3 separate regions of the Homo sapiens genome follow, and regions 1 and 3 are each linked to region 2. Evidence: promoter capture Hi-C in 16 types of primary human blood cells and fetal thymus (Javierre and others, 2016). All regions are on one chromosome and are shown on one strand. Each heading gives the region's core, a stretch centred on a gene start or on the middle of the fragment in contact. The rest is flanking DNA. Distances are from core to core; before and after follow the strand shown.

Region 1 (2,806 bases), core at 286-2,785, 1.2 Mb after region 2:
TGTGGCCACCTCCCAGATCCGCCTCCTTTGGAATCACTGAATGGTGGTGGCCTGAATGTCCACCATTGGTCCCTATTTGCTCCAAAGTAGAGGTGGCCAACATGCTTCCCAAAGCAGCCAACTTCCAAACCAACTGATCACCAGGTCCCTCCTGAACCGCAGTCTCTGAGACCTTCAAGGGATCCTCATGCACTACACGATGTCTTGGGGGAACCATTATCCCTAGATACCAAATCTATTAAATTATTTGAATTCTCTGAAAAGATAAGTCCTTAGATATTAAAGTGTTCAGGGCTCATACCTGTAATCCCAGCACTTTGGGAGGCTGAGGCAGGAGGATCACTTCAGCTCAGGAGTTTGAGGACAGCCTGGGCAACATAGCAAGACCTCATCTCTACTAAAAATCAAAAAAACATTAGCCAGGCATGGTAATGGAGGACTGTAGTCCCAGCTACTCGGGAGGCCAAAGTGGGAAGATCGCTTGAGCCAGGGGGATCAAGGCTCCAGTGAGCTATGATCACACCACTGCATGCCAGCCTGGGGGACAGTGAGACCCTGTCTCAAAAAAATAAAAAATGAAGTGTTCATATGGGGGGGCGGGGGCGGTTAAAGATGAAACCAAGAAGTATGTGACAACCTTAACATAAGAATTTACTTTTTAATTTCTAAAGAAAAATCAAAGGGGGGGGAAGAAATTTAAAAATATGTTTAGATATAAAATGTGCTACGAAGCAACATCAACAGGGTAGTAAAAATGTGCGTTTTTTTTTTAGGCCAATTAACCTGTTTTACAAGCTGCAACTCAGCTGCTGAAAAAAGATATTTAAATAGCCTCAAAGACTAAGCCCCAAATGTCAAACTGACTCTATTACTTTGTAACTAATGGAAATTCTGACCTGGGAATCTCTACAATTAAGTTCTTAAAGCTTTGAACCTCTACTATTAAACCGAACAAAACTAGAAATTACCACTACTGTACTATTTTCGAAAAGCAATTTCTTAAGAAGGTGGACACAAAAGTGGGGCGAGGAGGTAGGAAAATTAATTTAATTTTGTATCCTACTGAGAATCCTGGTATTAACACTTTATTTCCCCAATAAGTGAGTCCACGTTATAGCTACAGAACCTCAAGGAGTCCCAATTCTACTGGTAAATATTCACTGTTTTAAGTCTTTTGTGTCGACCGAAGGCTGAAGGGGAAAATGCTCTTGAGCAAGTGGGTGGCTTCGTTTCTGACTCACAGGCAGCCCCAGATTTAAAACAAGGAGAGAAAAACAGAAGTCCACCCGTACCATCAATTAGTTATTTTCAAATATCAGCTACTTTTTCACAGTATTTTTTGAGAGATCATTAGTCCAAATCAAAATGTGAGGCAAATTTACATAGCATGATATAGAATGCCTTAAAAGCAGTATAAGACCAAGGCAAAGGGAAGATCCTTATCTTTCAAAATGAAAGGGAGCTTGGCAAGTATTCACACCAAGATGCGATGCCTGAATCCCATTTGTTTTGCTGAAGTCATTTAAAACTCAGGAAGACATCTTCTGCCAAAAATACGGCTGCACCAAAATACTCCATACCCTCTGGAAAGAGCATAAAGCAATGTAGCTGACCTCTCAGCCACAGGCCACGTCTGCCAAAGAAAGAAAAACAAAACCTCCAAACTGATACAAAAGCCAAACATGAGCCTGGTGAGATGGGAGAGGCTGGCACTGCACCAGTGAACACCTCAGCCAGTATTCCCAGGAACACTTTTCAATTGTCATTGGGGAAGAGGGAGACCCACCTTCAACAACTGCATTATGATCTCTGACTGCCAAGGCCAAAAATGAAAAGTATACAGAATAGAGAAAAAAAACAACATTCTCAAAGTATATTTAACAAGAGAATAAGCAATTTCAATTTCACTGAAAAAGTAAAATGCATCCAGTGACATTATTTTCTAAATTTCTGCTGTTAATGTAAGAAAGATGGTGAAAATTCCTTCAAAATGCTTAGGAGTTCTAACACATCAAATCTGATCATTTTGTTTACATTAGGAAACACCAGACATTGTGGATCTCTTCTTTAAAAAAACAAGAATTTTATTTTACTGCATTTTCACCCTCAAGACATGTCTCGTAAAGTCTGAGGATTAAGCTTAGAAAGAGGAAGATTCAAAGCAACACAATTACAAAATGAACATCACTGGAAATATCACATGGCTTTAAGACTCATAGATTTGTAAAAATGTTAGTGATAAATCTCATCATTTTCAAAGATGGTTCTTATGTGTGGGCTTGATCTTTAAAGGTTATTTGGTTTTCATTATTAGAAACATTTTTCATCTCATTTTGCCCTTCTCAGTGTTAAGCTGTTAGAGCCTGCCACCTAGTGGCGATGTGTTCTGAGACATAATGTTAAGATATAACACAAACCGACCTTTCTGAAGAATGCCAAAGAACACCAACTCAGAGGGGAAGAAGTCATCAAGATCAGCCTTAGAGATAAAGCCAGCCTCCAGCATCTACTGGGCAATTAACTCACTGCAACTTAATAGGTGGAAATGATTTACTTCGGCCATGACTAGAACCCTAAGCATTTTTGACAAGTACAATGTTATCGGGTAACCAACCTAACACAATGCTGGGTTTTTTTAAGAATTCAAAATAAATAATCATTACCCCAATTTTGGAACTTTTGGTTAGATACTGAAACTCAAAGGGTCATTATATAGCCATTATAAATGATAATGAGACACCTTACAGTAACCCAGAAAAACATTCTCAATATAACCAAACAGAAAGGCAAAGCAAACCGTATGTCC
Region 2 (3,089 bases), core at 265-2,764:
GGCCCAGCTGCAGGCGAGGTGAGCCGGTGGGGGAGGGAGCGCAACTGCAAGGGTTGTCCCGGGACAGTGCCGGTACGAACCTCACCCCGCCGCCACCCCCGGGCCAGCTGCTGCAGTCAATAAGGCGAGGGCCTAGCAGGCGCTCGTCGCCCTCCTGGTGGGGTTCGCTCGGGTGTTCCTACCAGGGTTGAAGAGGGCTAGGGAGCTGAGCTCCGGAAGGGCGGACTAGAGGCCCCAGCGGCCACTCCTAGAGAGGCGGGCAGCTCGGGAGGTCTGAGCGCAGAGGGCGGGCGGAGCCGCACGTTGCGTGGAATCCCCTAGTTCATTCCCGGGAGAGCCCCGGGCGCAGGACAGAGCGGTGGAGGGGCGCCTGGGAGCTCTGGGGGACACCAAGAGAAGAGAGGTTAGGGCCAGTGCGCAGCAAACGGGGAGGAACTACGACGCGCTGGGTAGAAAGAGTAAGAGAGGCGCACCCACTTTGCTGGTGAGGGGGGCACACGGGGAGCCTAAGAAAGGCCTAAAGAGGTAGTGGGTGTGAGCCAGCCTCGGGCGCGTTAAAAAGGGGGCGCCGGAGGGAGGCAAGGAGAGGAAGTTGGGTGTAGGAAGAAGCGAGAGGAAACTGTTGCCTGGACAGAGCGTGCCGTGCCAAAGCGCGGAAACGGGATCAAGGAGGGGGCATCAGGAATCGCCTGGGGACCCCCCGGAGAGTGGCGGAAGCGGTGCCCTTGGGCGCAGCAAAGAGAGAAGGGAGCACAGGCTGAGATAGAGACAGTCCTGGGCGCTGGAGAGCAGGAGCCCCCGGAGCGGCAGGGAAAGGAACGTAGAGCCTGCATGCTCGGGGTATGAGCTTACTGCGCTCGCTAGGGTGGCGCGCACTGGGGCTCTAGAAAAGAGGGTTGAGAAGCCCCGGGCAAGTGCCTAGGAAGGTCAGAGGAGTCAGCAAAGTCCACGGAAGAACTTCCCCGGGTTGGAGAGGAAACGCACCCTGGGAGCTGGAAAGAAGAGGAAAGCTAGCCTGGGGGAAGCTTGATCAGGGCTCTGAGTACCACGAGGAGTGCAGAGGAGGTGCTGATGATTGCGGGGAGAGCTCTGAGAGCCCGAGAAAGGTGAGGAGGAGGTGCGAGGACAAAGAACACCTAGCGCGGGCCGGGCCGTGAGGAAGGGAGCCGCAGAGAGCGCGCGGACTCCCCTGCAGGGGCTCAAAGCCGCCCGGGTCTCTCCTCCCAGGCTGCCTCTGGCCGTGATTCACTCACCATGATGGAAAAGACCAAAGCCACGATGTTGATGGGGTACGCAGGGCAAAAACACGAGACGATGGTGAGCCACAGGTAGTTCTTGGGCATGGGCACGTCCTCCTCGGTCTTGTCATCTTCAGTGTTGGCCTCGGGACTGCTGTCCAAAGCCCTCTTGAAGTCCGGGCTAGGGGCGTACTGAGACATGGGCGAGGCCGGCGGCGCCGGGAGGGCGGAGGAGCGCACGGTCTGTGTGGTCTGGGGCTCTGGCCGCCGGCTTGTGGCGAGGCTCTGAAAAGCCAGCGGCTCGGGGCTCAAGGGAGACGTGACCTCACCCCTTCTGCGTCCTCTGCCAGCACCCGCCCGGGCTCAGGGACCCTGGCCAAGAGCCTCCCCACAAGGAGGAAGGGAGGGAGAAAAGGAGTGAGGGGAGGCGGGGAGGACAGCGGGAGCGTCAGCCTGAGGAACAGGGAACAGGCAGATGAAGGCACCCCACTCCCTGAGATCGTCGGAGGGACGCACAGACTCACACTGAGAAGTCTGGAATAAAAGGAGGCTCAGGGAAGGAGGACGCAAAGGCCCATTAAGTTCCAAATTGGCCAGCCCGTGGGCTGAAGATGACCAGCTCATTTTTAAAAGCCACTTAATTCTAATACATTTAGATGGGACAGGACCAACCCTATCCAGTTGGCAACAGACTCACTACTTCCTCTTGACTTCAACGTTTTACCTTAACTGTCTGGTGCCTGGGCATTTGATTTGTCTCCTGTGCCTCAGACCTTGAACACTGAGCCCCAGGAATTTCTCCTCCCCCCGACCCCCTCCCCCAGGTGGGGTGGGAACCAGGTGCCCAGCTTTGGCCTCAAAGCTTTCCACATTCTACTTGGGGCTCAAGAGACTGGAGTCCAGTATAGTCAGTCAGTGGGCACTGCCCGGTCCATGCCCGTCCAGGTGCCCTCCCCAGTGTGGAAACAAGGAATTCTTCTTTCCACTTTTCCACCTGCAGGACCCCTGGGGAGAAATGCAGGTAGATCAGGCTGGCCTAGGCAACCTAGATGGATGAGTGGGCTGGGAAGAAGAACAAGGTATCCACTTTGGGGACTAGTGTGAGAAAAGCAATTGTATCAGTGTCTAAGCTATTCATGAGAGGGCCGTATGGACCAGAACTGAAGCTTGAATCCAGACAGAACTAGGAAATTGTCACTTCAGGAAAGCCCCTTCATCTTGCTAAGCCCCTATTTCTCCATCTGAAAAAGGGGAAATAATAGTCCCTGCCTCATAAAGTCGTAGTGACTCTTCTATGAGATGGTACATTATCCAGGTCAATCCATGTGCTCAATAAATATTAGCTATTATTAGCATACTATTTCTCCTTATATTCTGAAACATATAGTGCATTATACAGTATCCTAAACTTGATATCCCTTGCTAATATTTCACCAAAAATCCAGGTATTCTGAGCTGCAGGACCACAAAGAAATGAAAATAATTTGATCATGCAGTGTCAAAAGCAATTGCTCACATCATCATACTTGAAACTATTAATCATCTTCTTGGCTTTCTCAGAATATAAGCTGATTGCCTGGGAGATTCTCACTTATCTCATGAGCCATACTTATTTTGTTATCTGCCTCCCTCATTGGACTGCACACTCCCCGAGAGAAGGGGTCATCTGGCTCATCTTTGTGTCAGCATCTGGCACAGTTCCTGGTACAAGGGAGGTGCTTAGTATAGCTTGCTGGGTGAACACACAAAGATGAAATAGTACATTCTCCGCCATGCCTTCTTTCTCATTTTGATGGATTAATAAAATGGGAGTAACTAAAAGATTAGATTCATCTACTGAATTCTCAACCA
Region 3 (2,858 bases), core at 295-2,794, 1.2 Mb after region 2:
AGAGATCAACCCTGGTCCAGTACAAGGGTAAACTGCACAAGGGTGTGACTACCAGAGACAGGATCACTGGAAGCCATTTGGAGGCTGACTATCACATTATATATATATTTCTCCCCCAGAATATAAGGGCATACATTTTCAGAATTGAAAAACCCTCATAAGCACTGATTCTCCCCAGATGATAAAAAGAAAGAAAGACCTCCTAACAGCTTAACATAGTGGGCCCACACCAAGGCCCATCATCATGAAACTTCAAAACACTGAGAATGCTATAAGCTTCCAGAGATGTTAAGAAGTCATCTAGAAGAATCAATAGTCAGAATAATTCTGACTTCTCAAGGGCAACATTGGAAGCTAAAAGCAATAAAACAATGTCTTCAAAATCTTGAAGAAAAATGTCCAGACTAGAATTAAACCCACCAAAATAAAGGGCATTGCAGAAGAAACAACCAAATTTTAGTGGATGGAAAGTAGATTAACACAGACATGCAAACATCTGCGTCTTAAGACTGACAGTGGAGAATGCCAACAATAATGAATGAACAGCACGAGGAAATGAAATGAAAATGAAGGAACGGGTGGGGTGGTTAAAATATACTTTAAGTGCCAAGTACTTAGAAGAACAGAATGAAAGTCTTTTCAACCCTGCTTGGGAAGTGGCTGGAAATGTGCTTTAACAAAATGGGCGAGTAAAGTAGAGAAACAGGAAGACAAACAGGAAGAAACAGGAAGACAAAAAATGAAAGATTCAAACCCAAAGAAGGGATAAGGGAGCTCTAGCATGGTGATGCAGGAACTCCAGAGTGACAGCTGTGTGCCACGCCAGGAGGAACCAGTCCAGTGCAGAGCAAATTGGGGTCCTCAAGAAGGAAGATTTTTCAAGGTAACAAAATTGCTGGAATTCCTGGTGCATCAGAATGCCTTAGGGGGAGAATTTGGGCACTTGGTGAAGAGTTTAAGGTCGAATTAGTAATAAGTACACAGAAAACTAAGCAAACAACAAAAAGAAAAAAAAAGACAGTTATTAACTCCCGGGGGGAAAAGCTGTCAAGGAAAGATAAAGCAATCATAGTGTACAACACGGCTCAGCTGCAACTAGCATTTACATAGTCATAATAACATAAACGTTGAATACTGACCTAACGAAAATCCTGAAATAACTACATTGGGAGAGCGAAGGATGACCCCACAGTGGGAATTTAGTAGATAACGCCTGGAACTGAAATATCTAGCTTTAATAATAAGCAGCCTATTTAGAAATAGATACTAGATACCAAAATAATCAGCTAAAAGAGATAAAATAATCAGCCAAAAGAGATAAAATAATCTCTGGGAGGGGGAAATAAAGCAGAGGGCAGGGGGCTACTCTGTTTTGTGGCCAACTCTGTGGAACCTTTTGACTTTCTGGATAGCCTTCACATTACTATGATTTTAGAAAGATATTGATGTCCTGCAACGAGAAGTAGGAGGCAGTAGCTAACCATTCCTCCATTCAGCAAGCACTCAATGGGCACCTACAATGTACTCGTGTTGGGAGATTTGGAGGAAAAACAAAAAGCCCCAGTCCCTGTCCTCTCTGGCTCACAATCCAGTGGCTATCTCCACACACCCAGAGAGGCAGCAATTCAAACTCTTCTCTAGTGAGAAGGTTAACAAGATGAAAACAGATGCCTGGAGATCTGCTTGTCTTGAACTAGTCAAGCCACTTGACTAGTGGCTTCTGTTGGCCTTCCCTGGATGGCGTACCCTTGGAAGTTCACCATGGGCTTATCCTTGAGGCACAATGGGACCTGCCTGAGCAGGTGGGGCAGGAGTTGGGGTAGGCAATCCCTGTGATAACCATGCCCACCCGGCACGGGCATGGTGTGGGCTACATTTTCTGTTTGTTTGGTTTTTGGGATGGGGTCTGTGTCTCCCAAGCTGGAGTGCAGTGGTGCGATCATGGCTCACTGCAGCCTCAACCTCCCGGGCTCAAGCAATCCTCCCACCCCAGGCCCTGAGTGGCTAGGACTACAGGCACACACCACCACGCCTGGATAATTTTCGTAGATACAGCATTTCATCATGTTGCCCAGCCTAGTCTCAAACTGCTGGGCTCAAGTGATCCTCCCACCTCAGCCTCTCAAAGTGCTGGGGTTACAGGTGTGAGCCACCACACCTGGCCAGGTTATATTTTCTAAAGCACTCAAGTGACCTACAGAGTTTGTTTGAAGCACAATAGTTATTATATTGTTTTGCTTGCATGACTTCATTTAATCTTGACAATAAACCTTGCTATTATTAGTCCCACTTTCTAGATGAGGAAACTGGAGCCCCGAGAGGTTATGTGATTTGCCTAAGTTCACACAGCTTGTAAGCAGCAGAGTTCAATCCAGATTCAAACCTGTCTCAAGCCCCTGCCTCTGAGTCTCACAACTGGATTTCTTTTCTCCATTTAGATTGTTGAATTGAGAGTTACAAGAACTGAGTTCTAGCTTGGCGTCTGTTTCCAGAAGCGAAAAATGGAAGGGGTTGGCTAAGATGACAACTAAGGGTCCTTTATGCTTTGGCCATCTACATTAGGAAGACAGAAGCCAAAGGGGAAAGGAAATGTGTGAACGTGGTGCAGAGGTGAACACTTCCCCTCCTCAAGCCTCATTTTCATCATCTGTAAAATGGAAATCACGAAGACACACATCACAGGGCAGTTTAGTATATTAAATACAATAATGTATAAAAAGTACTTAGCCCTCACCCAAACACATCATAAGTGCTCAATAAATTTGAGCCCTTATTCCTTCCTAATATGCCCGCAGGGCTCCACCAAGCTTGAATTCCCATAAGCTTTCACTTCTGGGAAGGTCAAAGAACCATGTTTG

The links. Contacts are between HindIII fragments. The CHiCAGO score rates a contact against its expected background, and 5 or more counts as called.
Region 1: a contact is called between a fragment that was not itself captured here and the fragment with the promoter of TMEM233 in region 2, in 2 of 17 cell types (endothelial precursors and erythroblasts). The highest score is 5.4, in endothelial precursors.
Region 3: a contact is called between a fragment that was not itself captured here and the fragment with the promoter of TMEM233 in region 2, in 1 of 17 cell types (endothelial precursors). The highest score is 6.3, in endothelial precursors.

The regions. Positions count from the first base shown.
Region 1 is chr12:118,404,673-118,407,478 of GRCh38, reverse strand. The region is part of intron 10 of SUDS3 (SIN3A corepressor complex component SDS3); the gene reads right to left. Among named protein-coding and RNA genes, the nearest start is that of SUDS3, 30 kb to the right of the region's middle. RefSeq lists an enhancer at 2,432-2,481. The HindIII fragment of the contact is 1,213 bases long and covers 929-2,141 here.
Region 2 is chr12:119,592,199-119,595,287 of GRCh38, reverse strand. It overlaps TMEM233 (transmembrane protein 233), which reads right to left and starts at 1,514. Exons shown (of 3, transcript NM_001136534.3): 1 at 1,254-1,514. The coding sequence starts at 1,439. The region is part of intron 1 of PRKAB1-AS1 (PRKAB1, TMEM233 and CCDC60 antisense RNA 1); the gene reads left to right. RefSeq lists an enhancer at 953-1,526. The HindIII fragment of the contact is 1,075 bases long and covers 1,028-2,102 here.
Region 3 is chr12:118,423,275-118,426,132 of GRCh38, reverse strand. No RefSeq gene overlaps it. Among named protein-coding and RNA genes, the nearest start is that of SUDS3, 48 kb to the right of the region's middle. The HindIII fragment of the contact is 2,531 bases long and covers 279-2,809 here.